6 separate regions of the Homo sapiens genome follow, and all the other regions are linked to region 4. The links are contacts of gene promoters, found by promoter capture Hi-C in blood cells and fetal thymus (Javierre and others, 2016). All regions are on one chromosome and are shown on one strand. The core of a region is centred on a gene start or on the middle of the fragment in contact, and the rest is flanking DNA. Distances in the headings are between cores, read along the strand shown. Region 1 overlaps EIF2AK4 (eukaryotic translation initiation factor 2 alpha kinase 4). Region 2 overlaps SRP14-DT (SRP14 divergent transcript). Region 3 holds the start of LOC105370787 (a long non-coding RNA gene). Region 4 holds the start of BUB1B-PAK6 (BUB1B-PAK6 readthrough). Region 5 overlaps IVD (isovaleryl-CoA dehydrogenase). Region 6 overlaps PHGR1 (proline, histidine and glycine rich 1).

What was found. Contacts are between HindIII fragments. The CHiCAGO score rates a contact against its expected background, and 5 or more counts as called.
Region 1: a fragment that was not itself captured here is called in contact with the fragment with the promoter of BUB1B-PAK6 in region 4 in 1 of 17 cell types (total B cells); the score reaches 5.7 in total B cells.
Region 2: a contact is called between a fragment that was not itself captured here and the fragment with the promoter of BUB1B-PAK6 in region 4, in 4 of 17 cell types (total B cells, naive B cells, M0 macrophages and 1 more). The highest score is 8.0, in total B cells.
Region 3: a contact is called between a fragment that was not itself captured here and the fragment with the promoter of BUB1B-PAK6 in region 4, in 6 of 17 cell types (M2 macrophages, M0 macrophages, M1 macrophages and 3 more). The highest score is 8.7, in M2 macrophages.
Region 5: a contact is called between a fragment that was not itself captured here and the fragment with the promoter of BUB1B-PAK6 in region 4, in 2 of 17 cell types (total B cells and naive B cells). The highest score is 6.8, in total B cells.
Region 6: a fragment that was not itself captured here is called in contact with the fragment with the promoter of BUB1B-PAK6 in region 4 in 3 of 17 cell types (naive B cells, total B cells and M1 macrophages); the score reaches 6.0 in naive B cells.

Annotation. Positions count from the first base shown.
Region 1 is chr15:40,013,197-40,017,806 of GRCh38, reverse strand. EIF2AK4 (eukaryotic translation initiation factor 2 alpha kinase 4) reads right to left here. Exons shown (of 39, transcript NM_001013703.4): 28 at 1,135-1,305; 29 at 565-699. Among named protein-coding and RNA genes, the nearest start is that of SRP14, 24 kb to the left of the region's middle. The HindIII fragment of the contact is 2,964 bases long and covers 386-3,349 here.
Region 2 is chr15:40,057,676-40,062,559 of GRCh38, reverse strand. All of the region lies in intron 2 of SRP14-DT (SRP14 divergent transcript), which reads right to left. Among named protein-coding and RNA genes, the nearest start is that of SRP14-DT, 21 kb to the right of the region's middle. RefSeq lists enhancers at 1-45, 920-979. The HindIII fragment of the contact is 258 bases long and covers 2,026-2,283 here.
Region 3 is chr15:40,081,099-40,085,497 of GRCh38, reverse strand. It overlaps LOC105370787 (a long non-coding RNA gene), which reads left to right and starts at 3,702. Exons shown (of 3, transcript NR_188231.1): 1 at 3,702-3,969. RefSeq lists enhancers at 2,730-2,849, 2,482-3,166. The HindIII fragment of the contact is 2,474 bases long and covers 1,478-3,951 here.
Region 4 is chr15:40,214,605-40,219,260 of GRCh38, reverse strand. It overlaps BUB1B-PAK6 (BUB1B-PAK6 readthrough), which reads right to left and starts at 1,833. Exons shown (of 10, transcript NM_001128629.3): 1 at 1,594-1,833. It overlaps BUB1B (BUB1 mitotic checkpoint serine/threonine kinase B), which reads right to left. Exons shown (of 23, transcript NM_001211.6): 21 at 1,594-1,765; 22 at 699-805. All of the region lies in intron 1 of LOC107984763 (a long non-coding RNA gene), which reads left to right. The HindIII fragment of the contact is 293 bases long and covers 1,730-2,022 here.
Region 5 is chr15:40,406,575-40,410,837 of GRCh38, reverse strand. It overlaps IVD (isovaleryl-CoA dehydrogenase), which reads right to left. Exons shown (of 12, transcript NM_002225.5): 2 at 3,113-3,202; 3 at 2,848-2,899; 4 at 41-210. Among named protein-coding and RNA genes, the nearest start is that of IVD, 2.9 kb to the right of the region's middle. RefSeq lists an enhancer at 3,339-3,838. The HindIII fragment of the contact is 993 bases long and covers 2,478-3,470 here.
Region 6 is chr15:40,352,180-40,356,645 of GRCh38, reverse strand. PHGR1 (proline, histidine and glycine rich 1) reads right to left here. Exons shown (of 4, transcript NM_001145643.2): 2 at 3,379-3,414; 3 at 2,294-2,301; 4 at 212-573. The coding sequence starts at 3,388. The coding sequence ends at 343. Among named protein-coding and RNA genes, the nearest start is that of PHGR1, 3.4 kb to the right of the region's middle. RefSeq lists an enhancer at 1,717-2,242. The HindIII fragment of the contact is 2,528 bases long and covers 1,365-3,892 here.

The sequences.
Region 1 (4,610 bases), core at 618-3,117, 200 kb after region 4:
GAGAGGCTGAGGTGGGTGGATTGCTTGAGCTCAGGAGTTTGAGACCAGCCTGGGCAACATGGCAAAACCCTGTCTCTACTGAAAATACAAAAAATTAGCTGGGTGTGGTGGTGCATGCCTGTAGTCTCAGCTACTCGGGAGGCTAAGGTGAGAGAATCATTTGAGCCCAGGGAGGTCGAGGCTGCTGTGAGCCAAGATTGCGCCATTGCACTCCAGCCTGGGTGACAGAGCAAGGCCCTGTCTCCAAAATACATATATATATATATATATATATATATATATATATATATATATATATATATATAGAAACAGAGTAAAGGGTACATGAGCCCTCTCAGTACTATCTTTGCAACTATCTTGCAAAATAATATAATTGTTTTAAGCTTAAACAACTACAAATGTGGTTCACATTATATTTCTATTCCTAGATGAAACATATATTAATAGAAGTATCCAATGATATTACTGGTTCAAATTTTTGGTGTTAGTTTGAAAATTTCAAAATAACAAGTTTAGAAGAAATAAAATTAAGTCAGAGCAAATAAATAAAGGGCAAGCCCTCACCAGCAGGTCATATCTGCCTCCAGCTGCGAGGATTTCAGGTACAGCCCTTTGCCTTCGTTTGATGAAAGCCACAAACTGGAAGATGATTCCATTGTGCTGCTGCACCTTGTAAACCAAGCCCAAATTGATCAAGACCTATAAAGAGAGATGCCACACAAATGTGTCAAGGGTTTGAAATTTAGAATGTGGAATATAATGCTGAAAATGGTGTTTCCCATCAATAGCATCAGAACAATCTATTTAGCATAAACAAAATATTCAGTAAGATCTAGCTCAAAGTCTGTTTAACCATAGCCTGACAAGTAAAATAAATTCTCTTCTCTTTAAGAATAACCACCTCTCTGAGGCTAACATAGTAAGAACTGCTTCATGATAGGAACAGTGGCACTTGCAAAGAAATCCTGATTTAAGCCAAAATTATTACTAAATATCAAATGCTCCAAAACACAGAAAGCAGTTTTTCTGGAAAAATAAAACACTAACTAGCATTAGTGAAATGAAACACATTTCCTCCCTGTGCTATTAGTAATGCTACACATTTGTACTGCCAGTATCAAACTGTTGCCAAACCTGTAACTTGATGCCGAGTTTCTTCAACAGTCCAACAACCTCCTCTAGGTCTTTTAAGCCATACTTCACCAACTGTGCAATACCTGTTTTCTGTTTTATTAATGAATTTATTGTTGGCATAAGATCTTGCAAATCTCCCTTCTGTTCAATAAACTTGTAGAGTCGACACAGCTGGAAAGCAAAGGGGCACAGTCAGCTGCCCATCCACAGCAGGGGAAGACTCCCTTTGCACCGACTGTGTGCACCTGCAGGAGCAGGAGCACATGGGATGCTACGATTATCTTTGTGGTCAAAGATTATTTTAGGCTTTGCCACAATCCTGACTAAGGATTATCCTTTTCCAACAACTTGAAAGCACCTTGCAGGAATGCTTTAGACACATACTCATGGTTCACTTTTATTCAGATACATTTACTCACACTTAATGCTGACCCCAGCAAAGCAGACCCTGGCACTAGCAGAGCTTCCATTATCTATTTTCAGGCCAGTATTTTTCCTCTTTACCTTTCTTATTCTCATGAATTCCTGTTACTGCAGGCATAGACATGGGGGGACAATAAGGCAAAGTCTGACTTGTTTTAATACAGAATTAGCTAGAAATTCCCTTCCTTGGCTTGAATCATTCCTATTTGCAACCTTGAGATGTCTTCTCCTGTGGGCAGCCTCCTGATCCTCCCTTCCCTCTCCTCCCACCTGGATGCCAGATCCTGGCTGTCACCAGCTGTACTCATAGACTGCCCCAGAAGAGGTCAGTGGCTAGAGATGATTGATCTCACAGTCCCTGGTACTCAGCTGGAGTAAGAGGAAACAACCATAGTCATAAAGCCAGAAAGAAAACTCCCAGGAGCTAAAGTAGAAATTATTAAGAAACAAAATTATAGCCATTTTAAGACTGTAGGCAAGTACAACCTAGTTCATCCATAAATTGGCACATGAAACCTAAGGGCTAAATGAAGGCTCAGATTGACATAGCTTAATCTTAGAGTTAATCATAAATCACTTAAATTTTTAAAAAACCCAAAAAATGTTAAAACCTCCTATAATCTTGATATGGTTTGGCTGTGTCCCTACTCAAATCTCATCTTGAATTGTAGCTCCTACAATTCCCATGTGTCATGGGAGGGATCCAGTGGGAGGTAACTGAATCATGTGGGCGGGTCCTTCCCATGATAGTCTCATGATAGTGAATAAGTCTCACAAGATCTGATGGTTTTATAAAGAGGAGTTTCCCTGCACAAGTTCTCTCTCTTTGCCTGCTGCCAACCATGTAAGACATGACTTGTTCCTCTTTGCTTTCCACCATGATTGTGAGGCCTCCTCAGCCACAGAGAACTGTGAGTTCATTAAACCTCTTTCCTTTATAAATTACGCAGTTTCGTGTATGTCTTTATTAGCAGCACGAGAACAAACTAATACAGTAAATTGGTACCGGTAGAGTTGGGCTGTAAAGATACCCAAAAATGTGGAAGTGACTTTGGAACTGGGTAACAGGCAGAGGTTGGAACAGTTTGGAGGGCTCAGAAGAAGACAGGAAAATGGGGGAAAGTTTGGAACTTCCTAGAGACTTGTTGAATGGCTTTGACCAAAATGCTGATAATGATGTGGTCAATGAAATCCAGGCTGAGGTGGTCTCAGATGGAGATGAGGAACTTGTTGGGAACTGAAGTAAAGGTGATTCTTGCTATGTTTTAGCAAAGAGACTGGCAGAATTTTGCCCCTGCCCTAGAGATTTGTGAAACTTTGAACTTGAGGGAGATGATTTTGGGTACCTGGCAGAATAAATTTCTAAGCAACAAAGCATCAAGAGGTGACTTGGGTGCTGTTAAGACCATTCAGTTTTAAAAGGAAAACAGAGCATAAAAATTCAGAAAATTTGCAGCCTGACAATGAGACAGGAAAGAAAACCCCATTCTCTGAGGAAAAATTCAAGCCAGCGGCAGAAATTTGCATAAGTAACAAGGAGCCAAGTGTTAATCACCAAAACAATGGGGAAAATGTCTCCAGGGCATGTCAGAGGTCTTCATGGCAGGCCCTCCCATCACAGGCCTGGAGGCCTAGGAGGAAAAAATGGTTTCGTGGGCTGGCCCCAGGGCCCCCCTCCTCTATGTAGCTTAGGGACTTGGTGCCCTGTGTCTAAGCTGCTCCACCCATGGCTAAAGGGGGCCAAGGTATGTACAGCTCAGGCTGTTGCTTCAGAGGGTTCAAGCCCCAAGCTTTGGCAGCTTCCATGTGCTGTTGAGCCTGCAGATGCACGGAAAACAAGAATTGAGGTTTGGGAACCTCCGCCTAGATTACAGAGGATGTATGGAAACGCCTGGATGCCCAGGCAGAAGTTTGCTGCAGGGGTGGGGCTCTTATGGAGAACCTCTGCTAGGGCAGTGCAGAAGGGAAATGTGGGTTTGCAGCCCCCATACAGAGTCCCTACTAAATGCTAGTCCATGGAAGCATCCAGGAGGGAGGCTGTACCCTGCAAAGCCACAGGTGGGGAGCTGCCCAAGGCCATGGGAGCCTACCCCTGGCATCAGCATCACCTGGGTGTGAGACATGGAGTCAAAGGAGATCATTTTGGAGCTTTCAGATTTGACTGCCCTGCTGGATTCTAGACTTGCATGGGGCCTTTAGCCCCTTTGTTTTGGCCAATTTCTCCCATTTGGAATGGGTGTATTTATCCAATGCCTGTACTCTCATTGTATCCAGGAAGTAACTCACTTGTTTTTGATTTTACAGGCTCATAGGCGGAAGGGACTTGCCTTGTTTCAGATGAGACTTTGGACTGTGGACTTTTGAGTTAATGCTGAAATGAGTTAAGACTGTGGGGGACTGTCAGGAAGGCATGATTGGTTTTGAGATGTGAGGACATGAAATTTGGGAGGGGCCATGGGTAGAATGATATGGTTTAGCTGTGTCCCCATGCAAATTTCATCTTGAACTGTAGCTCCCACAATTCCCCTGTGTCATGGGAGGGACCCAGTGGGAGGTAATTGAATCGTGGGGGCGGGTCCTTCCCATGCTGGTCTTGTGATAATGAATAAGTCTCACGAGATCTGATGGTTTTATAAAGAGGAGTTCCTCTGCACAAGTTCTCTCTCTTTGCCTTCTGCCATCCATATAAGATGTGACTTGCTCCTCCTTGCCTTCTGCCATCCATATAAGACGTGACTTGCTCCTCCGTGCCTTCTGCCATGATTGTGAGGCCTCCCCAGCCATGTGGAACTGTGAATCCATTAAACCTCTTTCCTTTATAAATTACCCACTCTCGGATATATCTTTATTAGCAGTGTGACAGCAGACTAATAGAGGGATTAAAGATAAAAATTTTGGCTGGATGCAATGGCTCACGCCTGCTATCCCGCTATAAAAAAGAAAAAAAAATTAAGTGGGAGGCTGAGGCAGAAAGATCTCTTGAGCCCAAGAGCTTGAGGTTACAGTGAACTATGATTGTGCCACTGTAATCTAGCCTGCGTGACAGTGCAAGA
Region 2 (4,884 bases), core at 905-3,404, 160 kb after region 4:
CTGCATCTCCTTTGCAGCTATGCCATCAGACCAGACCATCCACCATCCCTTCTAGTATTTACCATACTCTAGGCCACTCCTGCTCATTCACAGATTTTAGTACCTGGCCCACGGTCTTCCTCTCCACCACCACTCCTCCATGCTTTTCCTAGACCTTAACATTAATTCATTCTTTTGTCCAGCACATGTTTCTGAGCACCTAATCTGTGCCAGGTATGTTCTTAGAAAAGAGTTTATAAGTGTAGACCAGAGAGAAAATGTCCCTGCCCTCAGATGCTTACATTCTGATGGCAGCAAGGATAATTAACCAATGAACCAGTCCTACGTAAAATAATGTTAGACAGAGGGGCTATGAAAGGAAAAGGCAGATGAAGGGGTAGTGGCAGGATGGGGAGCTGTTTAAGAGATGGTGGACAAGGAAGGTCATCCATGTAGATGTCCACCCAGCACCTCCCACTCTTGGTCTTTGGCCTCCTCACTCTCCACCTCTCGTTCTGCTGCCTGGGCCTCCCACTCCCATGGCCAGGGTTTTGCCTCAGCACTTCTGAACCCCCTGCTCCCTGACCACCCCTTCCTCGGCTCTCAGCTTATCTACTCTATTACCTCCATTCAATGATGTGTCCCCTTTGGGAACTCCCTGCCTTTGAACTTGTCCTTTTTCACTGCCTTCAACCCCCTTCTCCAGCTCAATTCTGTAGGCCTTGACAAGAATCACCCATTTGTGGAAGCCCTCTCCTTTCTTGCTCTTTTCCCTTCATTTGGAATCTCCTGACACAGCCTCCACCCTGCTTAAACCCAACACCCTGCACCTGCACTGAGTAGCTGAGCATTGCCGGGGAAACTCACAGTCATACTGAATAGCCGCACTTGACGCTTCTGACCACAAACTTCAAGTGGGCGCTCAGCTTGCCCAGTAATCTTACTATATTTCTCTACTAAATTCACTGCGCCACTCTCCAGATAAGTGTTTCACATCTTCTCCAACCCTCAACACCTTCCCTTAGTTTCTCGCTGTTAGTTAAAGATCTTGCTTCTTATTTTGCTGAGAAACTAAATGTCATCTGCTGGAACGTACGTGCCTCTCACCATCAGATCTCCCAAGGTGCCTGCATCTATGCCCGCTGCTACCTTTCTTCCTCACAATGGATGCATGCATGGATAGATGGATGGATGGATGGATGGACGGAAGGATAGATGGACAGACGGACAGATGGATGGATGGATGGATGGGTGGACAGACGGACGGACGGACAGACGGATGGATGGACAGACAGATGGACAGATGGATAGATGGATGGACAGATGGAGGGATGGCCTCCTCTTGCATCCCTGGCCAATCCCTTCATTTTGTGCACCATATCCCTTCACTTACTCAAGACTGCCTGAAATCACCTTTCTCCCTCCTGCACTATCCAGCTCCTTCTCTCTGCCAGACCATTCCCTTCGGCACATAACTGCGCTATGATCTCTCTCACTTTCAAAACAAACTCTTCCTTGACCCTACACCCTCTTCAGCTTCTGCTCCACTTCCTCCTCCCTTTTACGCACCCCTCCTTGAAGTGGTTGTCCCTGCTGGCTACTTCTCCGAATCTTCACCTCCATTCCCTCTTAGCCTACACCAGCCAAGTTTTTGTTTCTGTCACTCCATTGAAACTGCCCTTGTCCAAGTCACCAGTGACCTCCTACTGGCGCATCCAAAAGGTCTGTCTCCTGGTCTCACCTCCTCAATTTCTCAGCAGCGTTTGCACAGTAGGGCACTCGCTCCTCCTTGCAACGCTGTCTTTCTTTGGAGTCCAGGACTCCACACTGGTCTGGCTTCCTCCTACCCGGATGGCAGCTCTTTCTCTGGCTCCTTCGCTGGCTCCTCCTCTTCTTGATCTCTAAATGTGAGCATGGTGTGGGGACTTTTTTCTTATTTACAGTCTCTCCCGGTTAGATGGTTAGATTCCATCTAGGCCTGTGCCTTTAAATGTCCTCTAGAGGTTGGGATCTTTGAGAGGCAACATGGAAGCGAGTAGAGAAGCTTGCCGGGGTGTGAACCCCTGCTCTGCCCCTGGTGAGCATGCCCCTGGTGTGATGTTGTTGCTGTTAAATTCTCCATGTAAGATCAGATCTTACATGGGGCCTGAGACAAAGGCTTAAGCATGAGTAGTTTATTTGGGAACATGATCCCAGGGAGCAGGGGTGAGGGGGAGGAGGAATGAAACAGAGAAAGGGGGGAGTCAATATGGGAGTGTGTTAACATCTCTCTGAGTGAACACCACTCAGTCTTTCTGTGAAGCTTTATGAAACGTACTTCAGAACTCACTGGAAGAAGGGGGACAGTTATCCATTGGCTCCTCTCGAGTCATCCCATGGAATGTTAGCTCCCCTTCACTTCTGGGCGGCTCATGTGTTAATGCCAAGCAGGTTCCATGGGTGTCCCCCCATCATGGTGTTGGGCGAGAGGCATGTGGAGAGGCCCTGCCAGGCGACATTTACACGGCACTGGTCAAGACCTGTGCAAAACTGGTCACTGGGGCAATGGCTGGAACAAGAGGTGAGGCCGCGGGCATCTGAAATGGCACACAGGATACGCCCCCTATGGACAGGGATAGCTACAGCTCTCGCCTCATAGGTTACTGAGAAGACTAAATGATTTAATGTATGTGTTTGGAGGAGTGCCCAGCTCTTAGCAGTGACCATCTACATGGTGGTAACCCTGCCCTGACATCCCGTCTGCCTAGTGGACACCTCGGAGGCCTGTCATGTTCAAAACAGAACTCGTATGCCCCGTCCCTCCGCTTGTCCAACTATTCCTCCAGTCTTTTCACTGCAGTTAAATGGCCAGGATTCATCTCTCTCTCCCACCCCTCACAACCAATTATCAAACTCTAGCTTCAAAAAATACCCCAGTCTGGCCTTTTCATTAATCCTCATCACAAAGTGACCCACCCAGGCCAAGTCACTATTGCTCCTTGCCTGGCCGACTGCACTAGCTTCCCAACCATCTCCTGCCCCCACTCTCCCCTCCCTACAGTTTGTTCTCCCACAACAGCCTGAGTGAGAATGTTACTGCTGATTAAATCACCCTCTAACAGCTTCCTATTATCCTTTTTATAATTTTTTAAAATCCTTTTTTAAAAAATAACAAGGCTGGGCATAGTGGCTCACGCTTATAATCCTAGCACTTTGAGAGGCCAAGGCAGGAGGATCACTCAAGCCTAGGAGTTTGAGGCTAGCTTGGACAATATAGTGAGACCCCTGTCTCTACAAAAAAAAAAAAAACACCTTAAAAATTAGCTGGGTATGGTGGTGCATGCACCTATAGTCCCAGTTACTTAGGAGGCTGAGGTAGGAGGATCACTTGAGCCTGGGAGGTCGAGGCTGCAGTGAGCTGTGATTGTGTCACGTCACTGCACTCCAGCCTAGGCGACAGAACAAGATCCTGTCTCAAAATAAATAAATGAATAAATAAATAAATCAGCTTTATTGAGATGTAATTCACATATCATATAATTCACCCACTGAAAGTATACAATTCAATGGGCTTTTTTTTTTTTTTGTATATTTGCAGGGTTGTGCAACCATCACCACAATCAATTTTAGAACATTGTAATCATCCTTCAGAAGAAACCCAGCACCCATTATTAGTCACTCCCCATTTCCTCCCAATCTCCCCAGCCCCAGCCAACCACGAATCTGCTTTCTGTCTCTCTGGGTTTGTCTATTTTGGATATTTTGTAGAAATGGAAAAATGCAATATGTGGTTTTTCTGACCAGTTTCTTTTTCTCATTATTCTTAAGATAAACCCCAAACTCCCTGCCATGGCCTTCCAGGCTCCCCATGGTCCAGCACCCCCCCGACTCCCAGCTTTGCTGACTGCCTTCCCTGTCCCAATTCCTCCAAGGTCACTCACTGTCTTGAGCAGGCCCCTCTCCTCTCCTTCCCCTGAGGATCTTGACCCTTGCTTGTCCCTTTGCTGGAACTTTTCTTCCCAGATCTATGAATTGGATTCTGCCCAAACGTTACCTCCTCAGAGAAGATTGTCCTCTTCTCCACCCTCCTCCACCTCTCCCTCTGTCTCTTCCCCTGACTATTGGAAATGCATATGTATTTGCTGGATATGGTGGTCTGCACTTTCATATGCCACCTGCTATGTTCTGAATGCTTGTGTCCCCCACAATTCACATGTTGAAATCTTCATCCCTGAGGTGATGCTGTTTGGGAGGTGATTAGGTCATGGGGGTGGAGCCCGCACAAGGGCATTAGTGCCCTTACAAAAGAAGCACTGATAAAAATGAAGACACTCAGTCCCCAGCGACACCCTTCCACCAGGTGAGGACAGTGAGAGGTGCTGTCTATGAGCCAGGAAACAGGCTCTCACCAGACACCGAATCTGATGGCACCTCAATCTTGGATTTCCCACCCTCCAGAACTGTAAGAAATAAAGTTCTGTTGTTTCTAAGCCACACAGTCTATGGTATTCTGCAATAGCAGCCTGAAGGGACCGAGAAACAACCTCACACCCACATGCACCAACTAAACTCTCTTCCCTCAGGTTCTCCTAATAGATTATCTTCCTAGAGTCTCGTGCTCCCCCAGGAGAAAAAAACCATTTATCAGCTGTAAGGCTTACTGCTCCAAACACAAATCAAACATCATGGCCTGAAGAAACTCAATCCCCCTCATAAGCAAAGCTGCAGGCAGTGGCTGCAGCTCTGTGTGCTCCAGGCATCTGGGCTTCACCTTCTTCCTACCTCTCTTCTTTAGAGGCCTCATATTGCCTCCTTCCTTTCTCTTTAAAAATATTAGCTTATCCCAATACTTTGGGAGGTAGAGGCAGGAGGATTGCTTGAGGCCGGGAGTTAGAGAACTCCCCCCACACCCCGGGGCAACATAGC
Region 3 (4,399 bases), core at 1,465-3,964, 130 kb after region 4:
CCGGAGGGTGTGTGAGACGGGAGCACACGCAGCCACCCTTCCCTGGCCTCATCTCACGGCAGCATCTCGCCACACTGAAGATAAGTTTCTCTGGCCCAGCACAGCCCTAAATGCCACCCACGTTTTCCTCTGCTGCTCAGCTGAGGTAACAGGAGTCTCTTCCAGCCTGAAGGCAGAGCTGACTGGCTGGGATGTCCCGTGGAGGGATCATGTCTGCTTGTTGTACTTCATAGGCATTTTAAAGGATTTTCAAGGGAAATTTTCACTTTATGTGATTTGGCTTTACAGGAGGTCTTGGAACTAGTCCCTGTGTACAATGAGACTCCTTTGGACCCCTAAACCCCAAACCATGCTGCCCTTAACGCACTGCTTCCTAGGAGACGCTTCTGCCCCCGTAACTGGGAAGGCTCGGTGTGGAATTAGAATTGGAATTGTCCTAAAGGGAGGGTGAAAGTAAGTGATGTTAGTGATGCCCTGTCTGGCCACTGCTTTTGCTACCATTCACATGTCCCCTGGCTCCACGCTACTCTGCAGGGGGATCTGTCACCAGCATTCGAATGCTCATTCGAGCGCCAACCCTGCTCCTAAGAAGGTGAGGTACACTGAATGAGTCACTGGCACTGAAGCGAGGCGCCACCCTAAGCCCAGTGCGAAGATTGGAAAGAAATAAGCTACATGGTCCCCACCCTCAAAATTATGCCCTACAAGAAATCCAGGTGGTGTGGAAAAGTGGATGAATCACCCGGTGGGGATTAAGGAGACTGGGTTTTCAGGCTGACTGTATCATTAGCTGACGGAATGACTTTGGGCAAGGATGTGACTTCACCTCACTGGTCTTTGGGGTCCTTATCTATCAATGGGGCAGGACCAGACTGCATCTCTGTGACCTGCCCCAGCATTTTATTCAGCAGGTTTTTTGTTTTTTGTTTTTGAGATGGAGTCTCGCTCTGTTGCCCAGGCTGGAGTGCAATGGCACGATCTTGGCTCACTGCAGCCTACGCCTCCTGGGTTCAAGCAATTCTCCTGCCTCAGCCTCCCGAGTAGCTGAGATTACAGGCGCCCACCACCACTCCCGGCTAATTTTTTGTATTTTTAGTAGAGATGGGGTTTCACCATGTTGGCCAGGCTGGTCTCGAACTCCTGGACTCAAGTGATCCACCTGCCTTGGCCTCCCAAAATGCTGGGATTACAGGCGTGAGCCACCATCCCCAGCTTCGCAGTATTTTGTGTTTTGTTTTGTTTTGTTTTGGTCAGGTCTCGAACTCTTTTGAGATTCTGCTGAATTAAGATAGCAATCCTCTCTTAGGGAAAAGGCATATGACATGCTCAGACTCAAGAATTTTTGCATAAGATTTCAGGAAAATTATTGAGTCTCTGAACCTGTCACTTGGTCCCCAGGCTTCAGGATTATGGTTTTCTTTGTAAAGGAAAAAGCAAAAGAACAAGTACTGCAAAAACTTAGAAACCAAAGCAAGCTTTTTCTTCATTGCGCTCCTGACTTTCCTCATACTCCAGGCAGTTACTGCTGTCGCATGTACATTTCACCCTGTGTACACGGTGATGGAGGATGGTGCAATCTCTGGGGGCACGTGTGTTTATTGTACTGCATTCTTGATTTTGGAGATGTACACTTCCTGTCAGCACATTCAGAGACTGAGGCTGTGAAAATGGTCCTGTCCTTTTGGAGGTCACAACTTCAGCCCAGAGAGAGTATTTGTAGCCACAATGGGCTTTGCAGCCTTCTATCTTATCCAGCTGGAAGACGGGCAAGGAACCTGGGGTGCTTTTCCATGAGCTCAGAAAGGGGCTTCAGAGGTTCATGCAAAATGAACTGGTGGGGAGTGGTCAGCCCTTGGAGGGGTAGGAAAACATGGTTGGGGACTGTGGAAGACCCGGGAGTGGACAGGGGCAAAGGCCTGGGAGTTCTGGGCAACCCTGATAAAAGCTGCTTGTTTTGCACCTGAGTGAGCCCAGGGTTCTGCCCCATGATTCCGTCTGTGAAGTGGAGAGGGTTTGGTGCCTGGTGGCAACCTCATTTCTAACACAGCATTATGTTTGCCAAGTACCCTTTAGCCCAATTTCATAGGTACTGAGCCCTTGAGTACCGATTTCATAGGTGCTGAACACACACACACACACACACACACACACACACACACACACTCACACGCTTGAGAGGGCTGGCTACTATTCTAAAAAGCAACCACAAAAAAAATTCATCAGCCCCCGAGTCTGGTAGATCAAAGGCTGGGGTCAGGAGCCTCTTGCCCGAGCACCAGGGCTTGGTACTGCCTCAATATTCTGCAGTTTACGGCCATTCTAGACCCATAATTTCCATGATTCCTCTGTGAAATGTAGAGAAGAACTGATGACACTTCACAGACTGGGGAAACCAAAATACACCTGTAAGACTGGATTTCATACCATTAAGGACCAACAAATTTCCCTTTTACCTCTTACCACCGATGGTCACCATTTACTCAGTACAACTGTCACCATTTTCTTGACTACCAATGGACATTATTGTGTGAGTGGCTTTTTTACATGTCTGGATGGACCGAAGGCCCTTGTGTGGGCAGGCACTGATCTGTCTCATTTACCACTGTAGCCCCGCTATCCAACAAAGAACCTGACACTTGCAAGGAGCTCAGCAATCTTCATGTAAGCAAAGAGTGAAGAATACTAGTGGGAGGAAGTGTGAGTGCTCGTGGCGTGATGTTCAGCAAGGCGTGCCACTCACTGCCGCCCTCACGTCTGAACTCCTGAGCAGTCCCACGGGGCGAGGGCAAAATGAACCTTGTTTCCTTTCCTCCTCCTGCCAAAGTCCGAAAGTCACATTCTGCAGACTTTCAGGAAATTTGACTTGCTCACTTCAGTAGGGTTCAATGCAGCAATTTCTGGGTGGAAGTGGAGTTGGGGGAAGGGCACGCTGGCACTGAGGCAGGTGGGCTCTGAGCAGTGTAGGCTGGTGAGCCAGGCTGAGGGCCACCTCCTTGCTCAGTGCCAGCAGAGCCCACGCTCACCAAATGTCCATGGTTCCGAAGCACCTTGGTGAAGGATGACACCAGTGGGCTCTGGTGCCTGAGGGTGTGGCCAGGGTGGGCTGAATCAGTGGCATGGCAGCTTCCCTCTGGCAGGGTCCTGCCAACTACCAGCCTCCCTGCTCCTGAGGAAGCAGAACCAGGGGAGGTGTGGTCCAGGCTGCCCTGCTATCTCCTGCGGTTCATCCCAGCCATCCAGGAGGAGAAGGGGTGTGTGTGAGGGGAGCAGCAGCACAGAAATAGCCTGCAGTGTTTAGAAGGGAGGACCCCAAGGAAGTGCCCAGGCTAATCGACCAAAAACTCCTGCTGGGACATTGCTCTTGCTTCCAGTTGCTTCGGTCTGCCTCTCATCTCAACTCTGGCTACAGAAATATGTGTGTCCCTTCGCAAGCTCGCTGTTTTATTTTTAAAAGTATTCTGCTCTACTGTGAGCCATGAACAGAAGCTCCCCTTGTGGAACAAAGAGTTAATCTCCCTGCAGTGGCATCCTGTCAGCCCCTCGGAACCTGTGTCAGCGTTCTCCTTCCCGCTCCCCCTGTGGACTGCCTCTGGCTCACTCGCTGCACACAAAGGCTCCTCTGTTTCTGGCCGGGCTGGAGTCACATGCTTTCACTCTTAACCCCGGAGCTTTAAAGCTAAACACCCACCCTCTTTGGCCCCAGATGACCCTGTTTACGTCTGCTGAGCCAATTCCAAACAGCAACAGTAGTGAAAACTTCTGTCGGGAGAGACTTCTCAACTACTGGTGTAGAGAGAACAAATCTTCACTTTGTATAATGCGAGGACTTTAAGAAGTTTTGGGAAATGGCTGAGAGGAAAAAAACACAAGGAAGCCAGCAGCCTGCCCCAACTTCTCTATTTTCTAAAGTATCTCTTACCAGAGACCCCCGGTGGGGCTCGGGATAAAGCTTGCAAGAAACAGAAAATGGTGAGCAGTTTTCATGGCTGAGGGGAAGAACATTCTAGATTTTCCTGATAGCCTACTTTGTTTAACCCTTAAGGAAAGTGACATTTTCTTTTTTAAGTTTAAAAAAAAATTATTTTTCAAAGGGCTATTCTCTTTGCTTCATGTCACTGAGGATGGGAAAGAAATATTCCCTTTCCTGGGTTTGGGGAATGACCTGTGAAACTGTGGAGGCTTCTGGAGAGGAGGGCTGGGCCAATCCATTTCAAAGTTCTGGTTGGGGAAGACTTGTGTTTTTGTTTTTACCCTAAAGTTTCCTTTTTCTTTTCTTCTTCTTCTTCTTCTTCTTTTTTTTTTTTCTCTCTCCCAGTTTATGGGTAGTAGCCCATGTTAGCCGTAAAGGAAGTCAAGTTTCCTTTGATTGTTCTTGCCCTGATCAAAGTGGCAGACAGTG
Region 4 (4,656 bases), core at 584-3,083:
CAAAGGATGCTTATTAACTTTTGGTAATAATTGCTATTAAAAAGGAATTTAGGCCAGACACGGTGGCTCACACCTGTAATCCTAGCACTTTGGGAGGCCGAGGCGGGCGGATCACAAGGTCAGGAGTTCGAGATCAGCCTGGCCAACGTAGTGAAACCGCATCTCTACTAAAAATACAAAAATGAGCCAGGCATGGTGGCGCACGCCTGTAATCCCAGCTACTCAGGAGGCTGAAGCAGGAGAATCACTTGAACCTGGGAGGCAGAGGTTGCAGTGAGCCGAGATCATGCCACTGCACTCCAGCCTGGGCAACAGAGCGAGACTCCGTCTCAAAAAATAAATAAATAAAGAAAAAGGAATTTAAGGCTAACACCAATTAGTTAGAAAATTATTCTCATGAAATGCTTCTTTTCACATATCTAAACAGGGAAGCTTCCATACTATAGCTGTAGTCTGGAAGATACAGCTAGATTCAGAATGATGTCCTGAAGTCTGAATAGTTTTGAATCTTATTTTTAGTAAGCAGTTCCTTTTTCCTGCACTAGCTGCTCTGCTGATACTCTAATGAAAACTGGCTGAAACTACTGGAACCATGGCATTTGGATTAAAAAACTAAGGCTGCCAAAGCAGAGATAGCACCCAAGAGAAACAGAAAATTATTGGGACAGGCAGAGACCCTGACATTCATCAATACTTACTCAGAAATATTTTGGCTAAGTTTCCAGAAGGACCCATCCCAGAAGACCTGTAGGTGTTCCTTGAACAATAGTAAATGTGCTAAATCTGCTATACCAAACAGGTCTACCTGAAATCACAAAAAGCACCATCAGCTAAAATAATTCTCTGCCTCTACCATGGCAGCTTATTTCGGTAGGAAGTTGAAAGGTATTACAGTGCTTAACTAAGTTTATTTTATGACATACATTTTAGTAGACTGTTCCTCACCCTTACAGTAAAGGGAGAAGCTCTCCAAAGAAGTGATCAATAGAGCCAATTCTAGGAATTATCCTTAAGAACAAAAGATGAAATATTTGGACTATCACATTCAAATTTGTAGACCTACTGAGTTTGCATGAACTCCAGCTGTGATCTAAATGGGGTCCACATGATTAGTTCAGGTTTGTGCTACATATTCAATCAGCAAATGTCTTATGTCTAAAGCTGAGTTAGAAGGAATTTCTGCATATAATGCCACCATACAAAAGACTTTACATTTGTGCTAATGTTCTTTTTATATACATTACTTCATTTACTCCTCATAACAATTCTGATAAACACATAGCAGAGACTGTTATCCCTATTTTACAGAGAAGATCACAGAAAATGACTTATAAAAGATTACATGGGTGGTAGGCAGTAGGAGTGGCCCTGGCACTCGGTTACAGAGTTAGTCATGTGTTTGCACATGTATGTGTATATTCTTCAATGCTGTAACACAAAAATGTTACATTTTACTTGACTTGGTGATATTTGAAAACTAGGTCATCTATTCTAGGAGTCGGTATCAGTAAACAGTAGCTTTTATAGCTTATCTAGATAATAAAGAGATTAAGAAACCCTCTCCATATTTGCTCAGGCTTGTTTTACACTTACCTGGTAGGGAGAAGAACAGTTAGCCAGGATCTTTTGTCCTTCCAGGATCTGTACAGTCCGAAAGCCGCTGAGGGTAAAAACATCCAGCTGCACCCTAAGGTCAACACTGTAGGAAAAGTCCACTATCTTCAAAGCTTGATTGTTCTTGTTACAATCATAGGGATCGTGGATTCTGAGCCCAGATTTAAGAGAAGGAGATAATAAAAATAGGCCATGAAAGAAGCTGCATAGCTGGTCTTTAAAAAAAAAAGGTACCTTGGGTACATCTTAGCTATGCCAACAACTCCCTCCAGTGGTTAATTTTGAAAATGCACCTGTAAGACAGAGCAGTGGCAGTGTCCACCCAATGCGGAAGGAATGTCACCACTTTGGTGACACAAAGTATATTTCAATCACGGTGCATGGCCACCATTAAACATTTATCAAGCTTCCATATTATATAAAGTAAGTATGGAAGCAGAGCACAGGCTTCTTCCCTGTACTGTACACATTAACACATACAATTGCAATGATTTATACACTGACAGGAATTATGATGGAGGAAATTAAAATTTTATAGGTGTCATAGCCTTTCTTGTTTACTATTCCAGATAGGCTTTCCAAGTATTGTTTAGATTCTTCCTTCCAGAGTTTAATGGAAAACAATGCAAGTCTGTTTTATAAAGTCCTATCTGTATTGTAAAATTTCTTGTAAAACACCATATTTTATCTTACTCTTACTTGTAATTCCAGTTATTTACTAAAAAAATCTTTATAATACTAATTAATTATCAATTAATTTTGTTTTCCTTGGGTTTATCTATCCTATGCAATAATGCTATTCTCCAAGGGGACATAGGAACTGTTTATAAATGAAAAGAGTGGGTTTTCATGTGTTCCTTTTGTCTGTTTTTCTCAATTAATTCCCTCAAACTCCTGATATTGGTGCAATATTCCTAAATACAGTCTTTAACTACTCCAATTACATACCTCCACGGCACAGAATGATCTATGTATTTTACTTTAAAATTGATAATTGCTCTCATTTTTCCTTGGCACAAGAGCCAACCTTTTTTGGCCACCATAAAACTATACTATAATTAAAAAAAAAAAAAAATATATATATATATATATATATATAGTATATATATAGTTATAGGGATCGTGGATTCTGATATATATAAAATATACATATGTATTTTATATATATATGTAAAGTGTGTGCATGTGTGTGTTTTGTTTGGTTTCTTAGACAAGGTCTACACTCTTGTCACTGAGGCTGGAGTACAGTGGTGCGATCTCAGCTCAGTGCAGTCTCTGCCTCCTAGGTTCAAGCGATCCTCCCATCTCAGCCTCCCGAGTAGCTGGGACTACTGGTGTGTGCCACCATGCCTGGCTAATTTCTTAATTTTTTGTAGAGATGAGGTCTCATTATATTGCCCAGACTGGTCTTGAACTCCTAGGCTCAAGTGATCCTCTGCCTTGGTCTCCCAAAGTGCTGGGATTACAGATGTGAGTCACCATGCCCAGTGTAATTGTAAAATATTTATATAACTTTGGAGGCATAGGGAAAAAATGTCTCATAGATTAATAAAAAGAAGCATGCATGAAGGTGTCCTAGCCCTCTAATCAGCTACTCACTCACTGTTACTTTGGGTAGGACATTCCATTTTTTTGGATCTCATTTTCCTCACAAAAAATATGCAGAAACTAAAGTAAGCAACTAAACTAAGCAATTTCAAAAGGTTCTTTCTGGCTTTTATTTTATTTTTGTAGAGACAGGGTCTTGCTATGTTGACCAGGCTGGTCTTGAACTCCTGGCCTCAAGAGATCCTCCTGCCTCTGCCTCCCAAAGTGCTGGGATTGCAGATGTGAACCACTGCATCCAGCCCTTTCTGGCTTTTGTTGTTGTTTTGTTTTGAGATGGAGTCTCGCTCTGTCACCCAGGCTGGAGTGCAGTGGCATGATCTTGGCTCACTGCAAGCTCTGCCTCCCGGGTTCACGCCATTCTCCTGCCTCAGCCTCCTGAGTAGCTGGGACTACAGGCACCTGCCACCACGGCTGGCTATCTTGTTGTATTTTTAGTAGAGACAGGGTTTCACTGTGTTAGCCAGGATGGTCTTGATCTCCTGACCTCGTGATCCGCCCGCCTCGGCCTCCCAAAATGCTGGGATTACAGGCGTGAGCTACTGCGCCCGGCCTCTGGCTTTTTTTTTGAGACAGAATTTTGCTCTTGTTGCCCAGACTGGAGTACAATGGTGCGATCTCAGTTCACCACAACCTCTGCCTCCTGAGTTCAAGCAATTCTCCTTCCTCAGCCTCCCAAGTAGCTGGGATTACAGGCATGCACCACCATACCTGGCTAATTTTGTATTTTTAGTAGGATGGGGTTTCTCCATGTTGGTCAGGCTGGTCTTGAACTCCCAACCTCAGGTGATCTGCCCGCCTCAGCCTCCAAAAGTGCTGGGATTGATTATAGGCATGAGCCACTGTGCTCGGCCCCTTTCTGGCTTTTAATTCCTTATGAATCTATGTGAAATTTCTGATTAAATTTGATAAGCAGTGACAAAGTAAAAAGCAATGCCTCTTTAATACTATGGACTTTCCTAGAGCCTCTAGTGGCTGAGAGAAGGGTTATCGTACTTCATTAGACCACAAATGGCCAATTCTAAAAGGCTTAGAAAAAACCTCTGCTTCCAATTTCCATAGCCCTGGGAATTTCAGCACTGTCATTTTAATGTTAAGTAGAGTGAAAATATACCAGGGGTTCTCATACTTGGAAATTTGGGGGGATTTTTGGTGGTCACAACGGCTTAGGGGATTGTTACTTGCACTTAATTGGGTGGGTGGGGGGGAATAGGAATATAAAACATCCTGCATTGCTTGGAACACACCTGCACAAAGAATTGTCTCACCCAAAATACCTATGGTGCCCTGGATGAGAAATGCTGCTACATTATGTCTGGGAAAGCCTTTGACTCTGCTATCTCAGGGGAGAAGGTGGGATTCTCTGGTTCTTTTGGTTACAATCACAGGAACACATTGAGGGTTCTTTTAATTTCCACGTTAACTATAATTTAGAGT
Region 5 (4,263 bases), core at 1,725-4,224, 190 kb before region 4:
CACTGTGAGATTAGCGTGTATTACATTTCCATTTCCTCACCTTCGGGAGATACTTCTCTTTCTGGGCCTCATTCCCATTGCGTACAAGCTGGTTGATGCAGAGGTTGGAGTGGGCACCGTAACTGAGCCCCACTGCTCCGGAAGCTCGGGATATCTCCTCCATCACCAGCACATGCTCCAGGTAGCCCAGGCCGGAGCCGCCATACTGAACTGTGAGTGGTGTGGTACAAGGGAGTGGAAAACGCAGCCCAGATTAAATCGGGACATTCATTAAGAATCTTACATTTGACGGCAGAAGGGAAGCACCTTGTAGCACCTACTCCAAATTCTCTCTAGCAACAAGAATAAGCTGATGCCACAGACCTGCTTACAAGCTCAGTGGACTGGTTTTGCCTGCTGGTGCTCCTCAGCTGAGGGGTGATTCAGAAGGCAATCATTGCAACTTCTGCTTTATCCCAGACAGACTTCTTGATGAAGATACGTGAACAACCTGAGCACCCACTACTCAGAAAGTTACAGAAATGCAGAGGCAGATGAATAAATGAAGAAAGAGGGCCTGGAGAAAAACAAAGGCATTGGGGTGGAGGTGGTGTCCAAAGCACCAAGAACAGATACAAAGCCAGAGGATCTGATGTGTCTGCAAAAGGCCTGAGGAAGGTGAGATTTTATAGCATAGGGCTGAACCCAAAGAAGCAGGACTGGAGGCCAGGCATGGGGCTCACGCCTGTAATCCCAGCACTTTGGGAGGCTGAGGTGGGCAGATCACGAGGTCAGGAGATCAAGACCATCCTGGCTAACACGGTGAAACCCCGTCTCTACTAAAAATACAAAAAATTAGCCGGGCATGGTGGCGGGCGCCTGTAGTCCCAGCTACTCGGGAGGCTGAAGCAGGAGAATGGTGTGAACCTGGCAGGTGGAGCTTGCAGAGAGCCGAGATCGCGCCACTGCACTCCAGCCTGGGCGACAGAGTGAGATTCTGTCTCAAAAAAAAAAAAAAAAAAAGAAAGAAGCAGGACTGGTGACAGGACAGGAGAGCCACAGCCTCAGGGAAAATCTTGAGGTGAGCTGTACAGCAGAGGGCAGATGAGATGCTGGCAGAGAATTTCAGAACTCCTCATAAAATATACGGTTTTTCCTTGGCAGCAGATCCAAACTCCAAGTGGCTGAGACACCTGATACCACCCCCAGCCCTGCTGATTGGGTCAAGCCTAGCAAGGTCCTATACACATGTTCACTCTGACCAATAAGTCAGGCTCGTTCTAGGCTCTAAGGAAACCTTGACCTGCCCCTACAACTGCAGGAAGGAAAGCCTGAAGGCAGGTGACATTAGAAACAGCCACCATGACATCATGCAGAAACCAGAACTTGTAACCAGCTTTCTTTTTCAGGTTCCCTTGAAAGAGTTTTCATCTGATTTCTTTTCTTTTTTTTTTTCAAGAGGCGGGCTCTCACTCTCTTATCCAGGCTGGGGTGCAATGGTGTAACCATGGCTCATTGCAGCCTTGAACTCCTGGGCTCAAGCGATCCTCCTGCCTTGGCCTCCCGAGTCACTCGGATTATAGGAGCCCACTACCACACCTGGCCATTTTCATCTGATTTCTAACTGCCTCTTTCTTCCGTAAAATACAATCTGATTCAGAAGCATATTGTCTGCAGGGAGTGGGGTACATAAACCCCCAAAACACAGTAGGAGAGTCTTGCTTAGGAGTACCCAGCAGCCTTTCCCCTAATGCTTTTACATTAAGATGGTTTCAATTAATCTTCAAGTGGTTTCATTTTATGAAAGGTGATATAACTTTCTAGGATGTAAGGAGAAGTATATTGGGTTCCACTCATACTCTCATGCCCAGAGTGAATACAGGCCCAAGCAGGCTGGGCTTTTTTTTTTGAAACGGAGTTTCGCTCCGTTGCCCAGGCTGGAGTGCAGTGGCACAATCTCAGCTCACTGCAACCTCCGCCTCCCAGGTTCAAGCAATTCTCCTGCCTCAGCCTCCCGAGTAGCTGGGATTACAGGGATGTACCACCATGACCAGCTAATTTTGTATTTTTAGTAGAGACAGAGTTTCTCCATGTTGGTCAGGCTGGTCTCGAACTCACGACCGCAGGTGATCCACCTGCCTCGGCCTCCCAAAGTGCTGGGATTACAGGTGTGAGCAACCACGCCTGGCCTAGGCTCATCTCTTTACCGGGCACTGCAAGCCAGTCTGGGCCTCTTTCAGACGTTAATATCATCCAAACCAGAGCCTGCTAGCTCCCTGCCTTCTCCCTCCGGACAGCCTATTAAACACATCATCTGGCCACCTCACCTGGAAGCCCAGATAGACATCTCTCTCCCCTGCCCAGCCCCTACCCTACTCCCCCCGCTATCTGCTCCCAAATGAGCTCCAAGGTTTAAGCAGAAGAGGACACAGGCAGTCCCTGCAGGGACACACCTGCCCAGAGTGTTCCTGCCGAGAGGCCACTGGTAGGACAAAGCTTATAGGGATTAGGGGAGGCAGTAAGACTGAGGTACTATGAAGACAACCACTTGATCCAGAGTTTTCTAAACTTCCCAAATCACCTGGGTGAGCCTATTAAGTATGCAGAGTTCAAGAGTTGGACTGATCCTGATCCAAGTGAGCCACAATGACCTAATTAATCCCTCTGCCTTCTCTACATCACTGTCTAATAAAATAGAAGAGTGTCCTGTTCTCTGGGCTGACAATCAATGGGTGCTTTCACAGGTCCAAAAGATGCAGTTCTGGGTTTCTTTAAGCACAATCTTTCCCTTCCCTTCCTGCTTCTTTTGGGAACTGTCTTAAAGGGCACATAAGAAAAGTTCTTTTTAGGGAAAGACACTATACTCACCAGGGGCTGTGATGCCCAATACGCCCAGGTTCCCCAGCTGCTTCCAAAATTCCTGCCAACAGAATGGAGCAGAGTGGAATAAGTGTTGAGGGGAAGGCAGCCAGTCACATGTGGCTGGAACAATGAGACCCAAACACTTCAGAGAGAGGGGCTGCATTCTTAGAGAGGCTTCATTTACCAGAAAACTGTGTGAGCTCTTCCAGGCAGCAGTGCAGCTCAGCCCCACTCCCTGACTGCCCCCGACTGCCCGGACCTCCCAACTCACTCGCAGGTTCTTGAACTCATTGCTGCGATCGATCTCCTGGGCCTTGGGGGCCAGGTGCTCCTGAAGGAACTTAGCCATGGTCTGACGAAGCTAATAGGAGAGAGGTAAACAGATGCCACTGCAGACAGCATCTCCACTACCCAGACACATTCAAGAGAAAAGGCCACAAGTAACTTCCCCAAACAGCATCAGACTGAAACTGAGAGGCCTCAGTAGTTTATGCCTCCTCAGAGATGATCTTCACCCCTCTTTCTTAAGGTCTTCAGCCTAGACAGCTTGATGGTAATTTTTAAAACGTCACACTTTACATAAAAATCATTCCATTGGTTTCCACTGTACTTAGAATAAAACACAAGCTTCTCACCCAGGCCTACTAGGCCCTGCAGGAGCTGACCCCAGCTGACTCTCCTAGCTTCCCCAGCACCTTCCCACCTCCCACCCTCTGTGCTCCAGCTGCATTCCAGGCAGCTGCCAGATCTCAATAGTTGTCAGGCTCTTTTAAGCCCCCGAACCTTTGGCTAAAAGGGTCTGATTACCCAAAGAGATTAGAAACGCCTCTTGGCGGCTGGGCATGGTGGCTCATGCCTGTAATCCCAGCACTTTGGGAGGCCGAGGCAGGAGGATCACCTGAGGTTGGGAGTTTGAGACCAGCCTGACCAACATGGAGAAACTCCGTCTCTACTAAAAACACAAAATTAGCCGGGCGTGGTGGTGCATGCCTGTAATCCCAGCTACCTGGGAGGCTGAGGCAGGAGAATCACTTGAACCCGGGAGGCGGACGTTGTGGTGAGCGGAGATCGCGCCATTACACTCCAGCCTGGGCAACAAGAGTGAAACTCCGTCTCAAAAAAAAAAAAAAAAGAAAAAAGAAAAGAAACTCCTCTTGCCAGGAAAGCTTGAGAATAGGGATTGAACCCTTTCCACTTGAGGTGGTTCACGGAAGCTCTGAGCGCTCGCTGGCTATAAACATAAACTACGGAGTTGCTGGGAGGCTCATACCTCCGCCAACTCCATCCAGCCTCCAAGTGAAACCTCAGGAAGGACTCTGGTTCTGCTCCATTTGTAAATACTACTTCGTCTTCTTTTCTATTTTTTATGAGATGGGGGTCTGGCTATGTTGCTTAGGCTGATCTCAAACCCCTGAGCTCAAA
Region 6 (4,466 bases), core at 1,379-3,878, 140 kb before region 4:
AGAGGTAATGAGGCCACACTTGAAGTTCCTCGATGGGAGGGCACAGGAGTGAAAAGGAAAGGAGAGGTGACCTTACACAGCCATTTATAGTGAGCACCATGGCATTAAGCTTCTGAGAATGCCAGGATGGTTGCCCCATCTTCACAACTAGGGAGCTTGGAGACAACTGGGTCCTCTGACAGCCAGGTTGGATATGAAGGAAGACAGGCTCTTTAAAGAATAGAATGTGGCCTCTAGGAGGCTGTTTATTAGGAAGAGAAGATTGTGGTTTAGGCCTCATTCCAGGTCAGCTGGGCAATTCTCTCAGGCTTGCCATCTTGTGTCCTGTTTTCTTCTACTTCCTCAGTGATGTGGACCAGGGGGTGGGTGACCTGGGCCATGGCCAGGGGGAGGCCCGCAGGGCCCTGGACCATGGTGGGGGGGTGGCCCGCAGGGCCCTGGGCCATGGCCAGGGGGTGGCCCGCAGGGCCCTGGACCATGGTGGGGGGGTGGCCCGCAGGGCCCTGGGCCATGGCCAGGGGGTGGCCCGCAGTGACCTGGAGGATGGCCATGCCCCCCACAGTGGCAGTGCCCCTGTGGAAAGTCAAATGAACAATGTCAGAGTCAGAGGTCAGGGCTAAGCTTACCTGAGATCAGCTCTCCCTCACTCCACTTCCCTGGGGGACTCAGGATTTCTAGGCAAGTAAGGAGTTGCGGTGGAGGGCTGGGGGCATGGGTAGCATGTCCCGTGCCTTTTGCCTTGGTGAGGCCAGAACACTGAGCAGATAAAAGGCAAGCAACCTAGATTTATTGGTTTCTATTCTTTGAGCCAAGATATGACTCCCGCTCCCTGTACCTCGATTTATTTTATTTGCAACTAAGAAGCAGAATTATTTCATCTTCTCCTTTCTCTCACCCAGGAACCCTTGCAGAGTGATTAGAGGCTTTGCCATGCTAGGAACTGCAGGCTCATTGTACTTAGGAGCAAGGGTGAGGCTAGAGGAGGCTACAGAAGAGCTCTTTGAAGGCCAGGGGCAGGGGGAGACAGGAGGCTGGGTCAGGGGAGATGAAAGAGCTGAGGAGGGGAAGAAGGAAGACAGTTGGAGGATGAGAAGACACGGAGGGTAGGAGGTGGCAAGGTGAGGATGTATGTATTCTTTTTATAGGTAGTGTGTATGTGTGTAGACGGTGTGTGCCATATTTATATAAAATAGCTATGTTTGTGTACGTGTGCATGGGTGGGTTCATATTCAAGCTTGGTATGTACACAGATACGTGCATGGAGTGCATGGTTCTGTGTACATGAGTATGTGCGAGCTCATACCTGTTCCTGAGCGGATGCCAGACCCAAGAAATCAGGAAGAATAGAAAGTAAAATCAAAGCTTTTCTGCCTCAGTCAGAAGAGGTCTGGAAAAAGTGTGGTTTAACCTTCCATCTTGGCTGGAATCATTCCTGAAGTCCCAAGGCCAGGGGAGTTTTTTGTTTTTTTTTTGTTTTTTTAACTTTTTGCCACAAGCCCAGGGGGCAGGCAAGAGATACCACCTTGCTTCTGTGGTAGGGGACTCGGGGTCTGGGGCCCTGTGGAGCAGGGCGGGGCTATGCTCCCACTGTCTGGGCTGGATAACTCCCCAGTCTCCTTCTGCCTCCTAGGGCTTGATTAGGGCTTGGTACCAGTGGGGAAGAGGCAGGCTCCAGGGCTGGGCGCTTTCCTGTGACCATGGTAGAGCAGCCCCTGCCCCATCCAGGCTCAGTGATGCCTGGAAACAGCCACTTCCCACCCCACCTGCCTCTCTGCCTATGGCTCTTTTGTTTGGGGGTTGGCACACAGACCAGGCCTAGGAACTGAGTCTGCTGGTGGTAGCCAGTGGGTGAGAAGAGGTGGAGGAGACGCAGTCTCCTTTCTCTGGCAGGAGTAGGTCCTAGGGGCCCCATAGTGTGGTTGGAGTTTGGGAGCAAGCCAGCTATCCAGCAAGGCTGTGGGGGTAGCCAGGAAAGCAGAAAAGCATAGCACAGGCGGGGAAGCAGCAGGAGAGAGGATGGGCTGCTAGGGCAGGGAGGGGACGTGAGGAAAGGAGAGAGACAGATGGGAAAACAGAGGAGAGAACGCCAAGAAGGCTGCAGCCAGCAGGGGGTGGAGGAGTGCAGCGCTGCCCACCCCACCCCCACTCCACGGGGCTGCTGCCTGAGCCTGCTCCCTTCTTTTCATTTGGGGGAAGTGGTGGCTGCTCCCTGAGGGTCTAGGAAGGAGGCTAGGGGTCTGGAGGACATGACAGTGGGAGGAAAAAGGGGAGACCATTGGGGGAACTTTCCTACCTTCGGACCTGTGGGAGAGGAAGGGAAAAAAAAGAAGCAGCTTTGGTCATTTGGTTCTGCAGTAAAAAAAAACCTGTCTTCTCCCTGGCACTAAGGATTTTGTGCCCACACCCCTAACCCAACAGGGCCTCTCAGACATGGTCACTTGCCTGACAATCATTCCTTCATTCATTCTCTCAGCAAAGATACATATTGGAAGTCAATATAAGGTTCAGCAGTGTGTCCCTGTGTGCTCAAGGGCTGGCTGAGTCCTCCTGGGTGGAGTGGCGCCAGTTAGGAGGTATGGGTTCTTGTCTCAACTCTGTCAGCCTGGAGGTGCTCCATGGTGGCCAACCCTGTCATCCACCTGATTCTTGCTTCTACCTCCAGGCCAGCAGCCCTGCCAACCTCCCCATCTGTCCTCTGCCCCTGTCACGCCCCACGTATCTCGGCCCAATCTCTGCTCAGCCTCTCAGAGCTGTTTGTTGTCTCCTGTTTATGACCTTCTGTTCTCAGCTCTTGGCCTTTGCTCATGCCTCCTCCCACTTGGAAATCTCCCTGGAGCAGCTGCGTGTTGCCCTCATGCAGGAAATCCACATGGGAGCCATCCAGGCTGCCCAGCTGTGGGTCCACTGGGCTCCTGCAGCACCCACCTGAGTGGTCCTGCATGTTCTGAAGTGCCCCATTGGTGTGGGAATCACCTGCTACTTCTTAAAGGCTAGGACGGTCTTTTGTTCATTTCGAGGGAAGCCGATGGCACAGCTCCCAAGAACTGGATTCTGGATTCCGACCCAGCTGCACCTCTATGGCCTTTCCCTGAGCATAACCCCTAGCTCCCCTGGGCCTTGAGTGTGCGGTGGGAGAAGCACCTACCCTTAGAAGCACCTAAGAACATGATGAGTAAGCATGCTTTTTAAACTGTAACATGTTCTACAGTATGTAAGGGCTTGTCTTCATTGTGGACCCCTACCACTGCCTTCATACAAACACACACGCACGTACATTTTTGGCACGCACTAGTTATGGCTGACTGATAGTCCCTGCCTTTACCGCTCTCCTGCTCTCTCCCTTCTTCCAATTCCCAGCCTCTCAGCCACAGTGCTTACCTGGGTCCATCTTTTTGGAGTAAGAGCAGGGAATACCTGTGTTCAAAAGGTAACTTTTAATTTACTGTAATCTAAATTGCAGTCTTTCCTTTCTCCCTCCCACGGATGCGCGCGCGCGCGCACACACACACACACACACACACACACACACACACACCCTTCAAAGGAAGAAAGGGAAAAAACTGCTCCCTCCGGCTTAGCTTGGCCCCAATATAGAGCTGGCACTGTAGGTGCCAGGCATGGGGGTTAAATGGACACAGCGGGTTCACCTACATGGTGGGTAGATGGAGACACAACAGCACCATGTACCAGCCCCTACACCCCATACTCTTACACTTGCCCCCCTAGACTCAACAATTGTGTGTTAATCCGATTCCTCTTGGGAAGATTTCAATATCCGTTCATTTGCTAATTATTCATGTTGTGTGTCTGCCCTGTGCCAGGTCATGGTATGCTTGTCCCTACAGACTCTTGTCTTGTGTAAACATCTGGCATGGCATGGGAGCAGGAAGCTTGGAGCTATCAGTGTGCCCAGTGCAGGGACGGGAAGGATGGTTTGCTAGGACAGGAATGGGGTTGGTGGCCCCTGAGGGCACAAGTGAATGGATTTTTGCCCTGGGGCTCAAGTGAATGGAAAGCCTTCCATGGGGTCCTAGCTGCTTGTACCTGTCTCCTCCCACCAGGATTGGAAGGGGGTGGGAGCTTGGAGTCTGAGCCAACTTGTCATTCACCAACAAGCCGTGCTGTCATGAGATGGAGCTGCTGAGGTAACGTGGTGCCAAGGCTGGCCATGTCTTGCTTGGGGCTGGCAAGTCACAATGGACAACCCCAGAATGGGCCCAGTGAACATACAGTACATTCATTTTTTTTCAACCCTCAAATGGGAGTGTAGTATGTGACGTCAGGAGCAAATACTTGACATCAGGGCTTTCTGGTACTTACAAGTTTGCTGAGCATACAAAAACAAACAGCGCCCCCAATACAACAACCCTAGCCTCTTGCAAGACACAGCCCCCTGAACCTCTTTTTTTTCTAGGGAGCCTTAGTGCCTCTTTAAAAGTTTTTTTGAGACAGTCTCACTTTGTCAT